Regions from separate parts of the Homo sapiens genome. Here all the other regions are linked to region 1. Evidence: promoter capture Hi-C in 16 types of primary human blood cells and fetal thymus (Javierre and others, 2016). All regions are on one chromosome and are shown on one strand. The core of a region is centred on a gene start or on the middle of the fragment in contact, and the rest is flanking DNA. Distances in the headings are between cores, read along the strand shown. Region 1 holds the start of FMO2 (flavin containing dimethylaniline monoxygenase 2). Region 2 overlaps KIFAP3 (kinesin associated protein 3). Region 3 overlaps KIFAP3 (kinesin associated protein 3).

The links. The method cuts DNA at HindIII sites, captures the fragments that hold promoters and counts their contacts. A CHiCAGO score of 5 or more calls a contact.
Region 2: a contact is called between a fragment that was not itself captured here and the fragment with the promoter of FMO2 in region 1, in 1 of 17 cell types (M1 macrophages). The highest score is 5.0, in M1 macrophages.
Region 3: a fragment that was not itself captured here is called in contact with the fragment with the promoter of FMO2 in region 1 in 7 of 17 cell types (M2 macrophages, naive CD8 T cells, M1 macrophages and 4 more); the score reaches 10.9 in M2 macrophages.

Annotation. Positions count from the first base shown.
Region 1 is chr1:171,183,733-171,186,699 of GRCh38, reverse strand. It overlaps FMO2 (flavin containing dimethylaniline monoxygenase 2), which reads right to left and starts at 1,400. Exons shown (of 9, transcript NM_001460.5): 1 at 1,341-1,400; 2 at 855-992. The coding sequence starts at 986. The region is part of intron 2 of FMO1-AS1 (FMO1 antisense RNA 1); the gene reads left to right. The HindIII fragment of the contact is 15,337 bases long and covers 1-2,967 here.
Region 2 is chr1:169,940,675-169,943,648 of GRCh38, reverse strand. The region is part of intron 19 of KIFAP3 (kinesin associated protein 3); the gene reads left to right. Among named protein-coding and RNA genes, the nearest start is that of SCYL3, 48 kb to the right of the region's middle. RefSeq lists an enhancer at 1-2,394. The HindIII fragment of the contact is 5,755 bases long and covers 1-2,974 here.
Region 3 is chr1:169,920,409-169,923,204 of GRCh38, reverse strand. KIFAP3 (kinesin associated protein 3) reads left to right here. Exons shown (of 20, transcript NM_014970.4): 20 at 1,424-1,876. The coding sequence ends at 1,529. Among named protein-coding and RNA genes, the nearest start is that of SCYL3, 28 kb to the right of the region's middle. The HindIII fragment of the contact is 2,125 bases long and covers 446-2,570 here.

The DNA.
Region 1 (2,967 bases), core at 151-2,650:
CAAATCTCATATTGAATTGTAGTTCCCACAATCCCCACATGTCTTGGGAAGGACCTGGTGGGGGTAGGTAATTGAATCAAGGGGGCAGCTACCCTCATGCTGTTCTCATGATAGTGAGTGCGTTCTAATGAGATCTGATGGTTTTATAAGGGGCTTTTCCCCCTTTGCTCAGCACCTCTCTTTCCCACTGCCATGATTGTAAATTTTCTGAGTCCTCCCCAGCATTGTGGAACTGGGAGTCAATTAAACCTCTTTCCTTTATAAATCACCCAGTCTCAGTATTTCTTCATAGCAGCATGAGAATGGACTAATACAGACAAATAGCATTATCAATATTTTGGTTTGATTAATAGAATAAATTTAATAAAACATATTTAACAAAGAGTTTCACAGCAGTTATACTAGAATGTCATTGATAAAGCTCAGTAAACAAACATGCTTCATTTGTCAGAGAAAAATAGTAATGATAAGAGCATGGTCTCTAAAGAAGCATTTGGTTTAATAATTGAAACAGAAGTGATATCTTGAGAAGAATCCCTGTTACTTCTATTTTTGTAAAATGTTCTCTAATATTAGCGTATTAAAGAATGACAGAAGTATGGGCTGTAAGACAATTGCTGAATCCAAAAGAAGAGATCTTTTACATGCCTGGGTCAGCTACCTGGGTTGGGTTAGTATTGACTGGGGGAGAGATGCCAGCCTATGACTTCAGTTCCATTATGGCCACATCAATAAGTAGAAATAAAATCTGATCAGAGTTGTTTAATAAATTTCTCAATATGACCCATCAGTAACTGTGATTCACCCTGAAATAACAACACAACCTGTTCAAGACCCAAGAAAATCTCACTTACTTTGAACCTCCACACTCCTCCAATATCTTCAGTTCTCTCAAAGCAAGTGGGCTCAAGTCCCTCATCCACACAGCACTTCAGAGAAATTAGGCCACTGACCCCAGCTCCAATCACAGCTACCTTCTTTGCCATCAGCTCCTGTCAAGGAGTTGATCAATCAACATTACTTAACTGGGACAACCGGTAAGAGAATCCTTATGATGTGCTCAGGTAATTGGCTTTAAACATTGTAGCAGTGGTAATTTAATAAGCAGCACTATTGAATAAAGAGCCAGTCAAAAATCCTGCTCTCTTCTTGCCTTTGAGAAAAGCTGAGTTTCTTATGGACTTTGTTGCAAACCTTGCTTACATCTAGCTTTAATATTTAAAAGCGACCCATTGAACAAAGCCAGACTATGCAGTAACATACTAGGGATGTGAGCCAAATTTCCAGCTAGAGTTCTGAGCTTTTCCTTTTCAGCTTCTTTCCCCAGCGATCATCCTTACCTTTGTTTTTGCCTTTTGGCACCGTCTCTTTGACAGAATAGTTTTCTCCCTTGGTTGTGTGCTGGGAGGCAGTTGGAAGCGTTTTTAAGAGTTGGAGGTGGCTGTGAGAAATGGGAGGAGTTCCGTATTCCTCCAGCATTCTTCCAGCTGAAACTCCAAAGACTTAGTTAGGAGTCCTAGAATTAGGCAAGAGGCTCGTGCTCTGAGGTCAACAGTAGTAATGCAATGTCTTTACAGTAACAGCATATACTCTTACATAGTAGCAACATATACTCTTAAACATACAGATAGTTTAAAAATCCTTTTTATAATGATGTAATAAATATTCATTCACAAATGAACATATAGGGATAAATAACAAGGTTAAGATTACTCCTCACCACCCAGAGGTAACTGCTGTTGACATTTTGGTATATCCTTCCACCTATTTGTAGATACATACACACAAACAGAAATGGAATAGTCTAATTTCCAACTTGATTTTTTAACTTTCTAGTATATCAATATTGTGTACCTATAGCAGCATTTTTCATGGTTGCATGAATCTCATTTAGTTGATGGTTTAATTATCTAACAAATATTCAGTTCTTGCAGTTAAGCACTATTTCTGGCAGATTACCATGCCTGGATGAACAAGACAGATTATGTTCCTGATCTTATGGAATTCACATTTGTGTTCTGGCTTAGTTTTCATAGACTTGATGATTTCTGGGTCCTAGCATACTGTGTTCATCTTTTCCCAGATTGCTCACCCTGTCCAGGCTCATATCTTATTTTGATTTTTCTGCCTATGTGTATGGTGGCTTGGATGAACCTAGTGGGACTTCTAAGATCTTTCTATCCACTGCTGTCTTTTTGCCTTGATATAGAACTGGATAATTACCTCTGCTAATAATTTCAGTTATTAGGGTTAACATTTATTAGCAGACTAACTTAGGAGACTAGCAAGCCCTCGTGTACCTTAGATAGAGTCTAACTGATGAGGTAAAGAACTTTATTCTCCAACCCCAAAAGACCAGTTTCTCTAAGGAGTCTGAGACGTTTTACATAAACTTATTCAATAAATATTTACTGAACACTTCCTAGGTGCCAGAAACTTTCTAAGTGATGCAGGTACAGCAATGAATAAAAGAGGCAAAACTCTCTGCCTTTGTGGAGTTTACTTTGTAGTTGAGGGAGCCAGACAGCCCATCAATAAAATAAAACAAGTGGTGATGACCACTATGGAGAAAAAGAAAACTGGAAAGGGAGGTCTGGAGTGCAAGAGTGAAGAGTTGTTTTATAATGTCAAATAAGGTGTTCTAGAAAAACGTTTTCCCTGAAATTTCCTAAAATAAATTGGTCGTGATAAAAGGCCTTCTCTGTGTAATAAGTGCAGCAACTCTATGACAAGACTAACAGATATAACAAAAGTGATGATCAATGACTAAGGAACAAAAGAGCTGAACACATTTCTCAGTTAAAATGAAAAAAGGCCAGGCACAGTGGCTCATGCCTGTAATCCCAGCAGTTTGGGAGGCCAGGGTAGGGTATTGCTAGGAGTTCAAGGTCAGACTGGGCAACATAGTGAGACTTCATCTCTGCAAAAAACAAAAAATCAGTCAGGCATGGCAGCATGCACTTGTAG
Region 2 (2,974 bases), core at 162-2,661, 1.2 Mb after region 1:
TAAAAAACAAAAATGATTTTTAAGGTAATATAATGCAAATTACCGTCATAAAGGCTTGCTCCTTCATATTATAATGAGAATAACAAAATTGTATATAATTGGTTAATAAGCATCACTATTCCCCCTTAAAAAAATAAGGGAGAGAAATAGAGCATGTCATCTTTTATTTCCTTTAAATATGAGTGTAATGATATTGAGCTTACTCCTTAACTCAGGGATATTTTCTAATTTAAGGTAGATTTAATCTAGCCTATTGTTGTCTTGATTGATTTAACAATGTAATTTAACTATTTATGAACAGTTGTTAGATTTCTTATATTAGAAATATTAGATATTTTTTCTAAGATATTTGTTTTTTAAGAAACAGCTAAAACCTAGGGCCTACAGGTTTTCAAATGTAATTTTAAATGTAATATTAATTCCCATAATCTCCATATTGCCCATAGTCTTTACAGATGTGCTATTACAAATAGCTTACTCCTCAGATATGAGCCATATGGGCTCTGTAAACTGATTTGCACTTATTCTGAATAGGAATTATACAGATTGTAGATGAATTATTAAGTAAATTTATATTACCAAATAAATCTAAGAATAAAATATTAAGCTGTATTAAATGAGAAAGGAATCTGCAAATGAAGACCTACCTGCGTTAATAAGTTTAGTGGTTACCTTCTTGGTTTCAATCAAAAGAAATTAGTTTTTTGTTGTTGTGTTTTTTAAAGGGGTGGGGGGGGGCGTCTTTAAAACTGCTTACGGAAGTATCTAAGACAAAAACAAGGAAATATAATGTTATAAACTCAGCCAGTCCAAACCACTTGAACTGCTATGACAGCTCATAAAACTGAGAGTAGTTTTTAACTGGGCTCTGTTCTACATTGCCAAAGTGAATTTTCCTTGCAGGAAGTAGCCAGAGGGTTTATTTAGTTTCCAGTCCATGGCTTTGATCTTTCTGTACTGTCACATCTTGGGTTACATAGCCCTTTTTCACTGCAGTAAATCTGCAGCAGTTAATGAGAATAAAATTTCCTCCTTACTGATCACATTCTGTTGAATGCCAAACCACAGCCAACTGCATATTTGCAGAATTTCAGCTACAATGTATGAAAACAGCACAATCAGTTTAATCTTGTTTTCTTTGCAATTCATTTTATTGGGCTTTCTTCCTTTTCAAGTGACCTACTTTATCCAGTCAAGTGGTTGCAGGCCAAACTTGGAAGAAAGATTTAAAATGTGAATAAACTAAGAGGAGAAGGTGTGCAGGAGGTGGGCCAGGGGAGGGCAAGTGGAAGTCCGTCTGCACTGCCGTGAAGATTCCAAGACTCCATAAATTGAGTTTATTTTAATCCTTTTTAAAGACCAAGCCTTTTTTTCTTTTTTCTCCTCAAATAAAATAAAATGGTTTGTTATTTCTTTAGTTATTTTGTATGTTTAGTTTCAACATAAGTTTGTACTTACTGAGTTTATTTAATGAGTCATAACATTATTTTTCAGTTTTCATTATAGAGAAGACACCACAGTACTTAAGGAAATTTAAGGGAATTTCAAGGATTTCAAAAAATTGAAGTTTCACTTTATAAGAGCTCTTCTTAGAGTAAAAATAACATTGTTGTTAACACACACTATACCATCTTATCAAATGGGTCCTTACAAACATAAAGGAAATACTATGAATATGTTGAATAAATCAATAGAATTTCAAAATCACATTTAAGCAAGCTGAATTTTATACATTAATATGTGCATCCTCATAGTAAAGTACATAAAGAATCATATTTATTTTCTTTTTTGTTACAATGAAACCTCTCAATTGAGGCATTAATTACCTGATTCAGTTAATACAGGTTAAATATATTTTTTACTTACACCTCTTATCTTTTCTACTGCTTTGTTTTTGTGGTTGGCAACTGGAAGTTAGCAACTTCTTTGTCAAGAAATTCACCCTCAGGGGGCCATCTTGGGTGATAGTCATTGATAAATATATTTTATTGTATATTTATATTAGGTCAAATTTATATATGGAAATATGAAATTTTATAAAATAAATCAAAAAAGGAAATCAGCTTATATTTTCCCAGAAGATTGAAGTCACAGTTACTGTTTAGCCATCTAATTTCACAGAAAAAATTATTCTCATCCTCATAAAAATCAAAATGTTGAGATAAAGAAAAAATATGTAATATTTATTGATTTAGACAACTACCATAAAAGCAATAACCAAAAGTGTATTGAGAACTCAGAAGACTGTTTCTGAATTGGGGACAGTAAAGTCAGATCTCCTGATAAAAAGAGGATCCACTTTTGGGGAAATGCCTGTTGTTAGTTACCCCAATACAAGAGGAGGGTAAGAGGAGTGGTTTGAACATTTTAAAGGAAAGAGGTGCAGCACTCACAGGGCCTTTTCAGAAGGTATTAGGTATAATGTTAGAATGTTGAACTTTCAAAATGTAGCTTATACTCTTAGAATTGTTTTCAAATAGACCTATGTCTACTTAAATTGTAACATAATAGTTTGCATGTGAAAAAAAGATGAAGATGAAAACAGAATTTTAGACTTTATCTGAGGGCCTTTTCTATAGTTTGCTTCTTCGTTTCTTTGCAACTTTAAATCTGCCCAAAATTCTAACCTTGCAAGTCCACAGAAAGTTTCTTCATGAAGTAAACATTGTTTTCTTCAGTTTTTGTTGTCTTTAAACACACACACACACACACACACACACACACACACACACACACATAATTCTTAAACAAGTGCAACTGCTCAAAAGAATTTGTTTTGGGGACATGAACAGTCCAGTAGAGTTTTAAATGAAACTGCTGGAAAGGAGTAGAAACAATGCTGACTTCAGTGACATACACAATCTTTATTCTAATTGTATTATTTTAAATGGTATTCTCTAAATCAGGGGTCCCCAACTCCCAGGCCAGTACCTGTCCATGGCCTGTTGGGAACTTGGCCACACAGCAGGAGGTG
Region 3 (2,796 bases), core at 259-2,758, 1.3 Mb after region 1:
TTGAGAAACTATAGACAGAGTTTTTATATAGAAGGACCCCAAAACAACAAATTTTGTCCAGAATCGCTCAGTACAAATGCTAACCTGAAACTTGTATTTCAGAACTTCCATTCTCCTAAAGGGCAGAGTCACTGGACCAGTATGTGTTATATGTATTTTGGCTCTTTACATTTACTCTTTAGTTCCATCTTAATACACACAAGCACGCGTGCACACAAACACACACACGCATTCACACATTTATTTAAAACCTTAACATTTTAATAGTTACTTCTAAAGTGTGTCAACTTAATCTCACTCTGAGTGTGACAGGGAGTTAGTGCCTATGTGAATATATTTTTTCATCACATTCAGTTTTTGCTATTGAGGGAAAATTATCTTTCCATCTCATGTAGTGCAAACTTAAATCTTAAATCATTTAAATATGTTTTATTTTTCCAAAGCTTACATTTCTGCATTACAAATGGTGTCCATTGATTGGAAGTCAAGCTCACTAGCATTCACTGCATGAGCTATGCATGAGCATGTTAAGGCCACCATGTTCTGCCTGGCAAAATAAATACTTTATCATTTTCCTAAGTGTTGGATAATTCCCTGACCTTTAAAAAGGACTTTGGAGAACAGATTTTCCTCTAAATAATGTATTAATAGACCAACAAGTAATTTTTTTAAAATAATAATCATGAAGTTTAACATACTTCAAGCTATCTTTACAACTCTGAAGGTTATCTTTGGGTTTCTGTTATTCCCATAGAATAAGTTGAACCAAAATTTGTAATTGTCTTGCTGTCACTCAAAAGAAATAGATATGTTTTGTAATTGTTTGCATTGAGGAATCAGAGGAAGGATTTGCAGATCAAATCTGACTAATTTTCAAATTTTGTCAAATTCCTTATCTTGTTCTTTTAATCATAGGCTTATGGTATGATTTGGCCCTGCATGAGAGTTCACTGATATAACTCAAACACATGTTTTTACTAAAAGTGGAATTAGTCCTGTATCTTCATATGAAAAGACATTATAAACAGCAAAACTCACTTTACTACAGTTTTATTTTTATCATTCCCTAGCAATATATTACTGATCATTGCTAGCATGTAAAATCTTTTCATATTTTTGCTTAAGAGCCATATATAAGTAATTTATTAAATAAAACTTTTCTGATTTGATTCTTCCACTTTGTTTCAAATAGTACCTACTGACAGAGGTTTCCCATACTTTTAACACACATTGTTAGAAGTATTTTATTATATACACTTTTAATGGCTCTATTAACCTTAAAAAAAAAAGTTAATGATATCCACCTAAATCACTATCCCTGCTAGGAAGAGAATCTTGGTGGTATAAAAATGTAGGCCTCTTAATCTGCATTGTGGATGTGTGATGAAAAACATAGCTTATCATTCTTTTTTTTCTTTTTTAGCCTTGGAATGGATGGCTTTGGCCAACCAGTTGGCATTCTTGGACGCCCTGCCACAGCATATGGATTCCGCCCTGATGAACCTTACTACTATGGCTATGGATCTTGATAAAGTATCTGTTTCCATGTGTAATCTCAGCTTAGAAGAAATCTGTGTGGGTTGGGTTAATTTTGGATCTTTGCCTAATAATGCATGTTGATGTTATTGTGGGTCTGTGTTTGTTTTTATTTTTATATGTTGTTAGCTGCAGATTAACCCCAGCCCCTCTGTCTTCTGTTAAGTACAGTTGATACTGACATTGTTCACTCATCAAACCACATCTTGATGCTAAGTAACATTTCCCATGAGCCACAAAACTGAATGCTGAAAAGCTACTAGACTGGAAAACAAACACTGCATTATGTATGTTAAGTGACTAATTTAATTTCAATTAAAAAGCGTAAAGTGAAAATGAATAAGTGAAAGTCATGTGTTTATATTTCACACATTTCACTACGAATTACATGTTAATATAGGGTGCGCGTGAATTTTATTTTTTCTCCTTTTTTTCTGCTTGTAAACTCTTGAGTAATTTGTATAATATATGCTACCTTTAAAATTTATAAAAAGAACATCACCTTCATATTCCATGCCATGTGCCTGAAAGTTTCCTTCCCAAAGTTTATTAACTATGAGTTTTCAATTAATAATGGAACATATGTCATAAGTTATTTATGGTTATAGTCTCTTTGGTGGTTTTAATTCATATCTTCCTAGTTGTAATATAGAAATCCTAGGACAAGTAGTATACAAGACAAGCAGTGATACAAGATTAGCATTTGGCTTTTAACTTTTATTCTTCATAAATTTAGTATCTAAAGCATGGGAAAGCTAATTAAAAGTCGCATTAAGGAAAACTAAGGAACAGAATATTTCACTCACTTGGGTACCCAGTTCCCAATTGTTCACTTGTTCTTATAACGTACATTTAGATAGCAAGAAATGGAGAGACATTATATAATTCATAATGGGTTTTGAAAATAGTTCAGTGTTTTCATATTAAAAAAATGTTCAATTCTACTTGAAAAGCTGAGCAAAGAAATAACCATAATAATAACTATAATCAGAGATAGTTCCATGATCACCTGCTATGGGAGAAAATATGAAGCTTCAAAGGGAATACATAGATCAAAGATAAGACTTCTGTTCTTGAATTTAAAATCTCATTGATCTAACTACACTATTTATGTGGCTTAAATTACATTTTAAGCAGAAGATAACATTTGGAAAAGGCCTTTGAAATAACTCATTCCATCTACTTATTTAAGAAACCAATCACATAAAAAATTTAAATGTAATCAACAGATATTTTCCTGACTACCTGCTATGTGTAAGG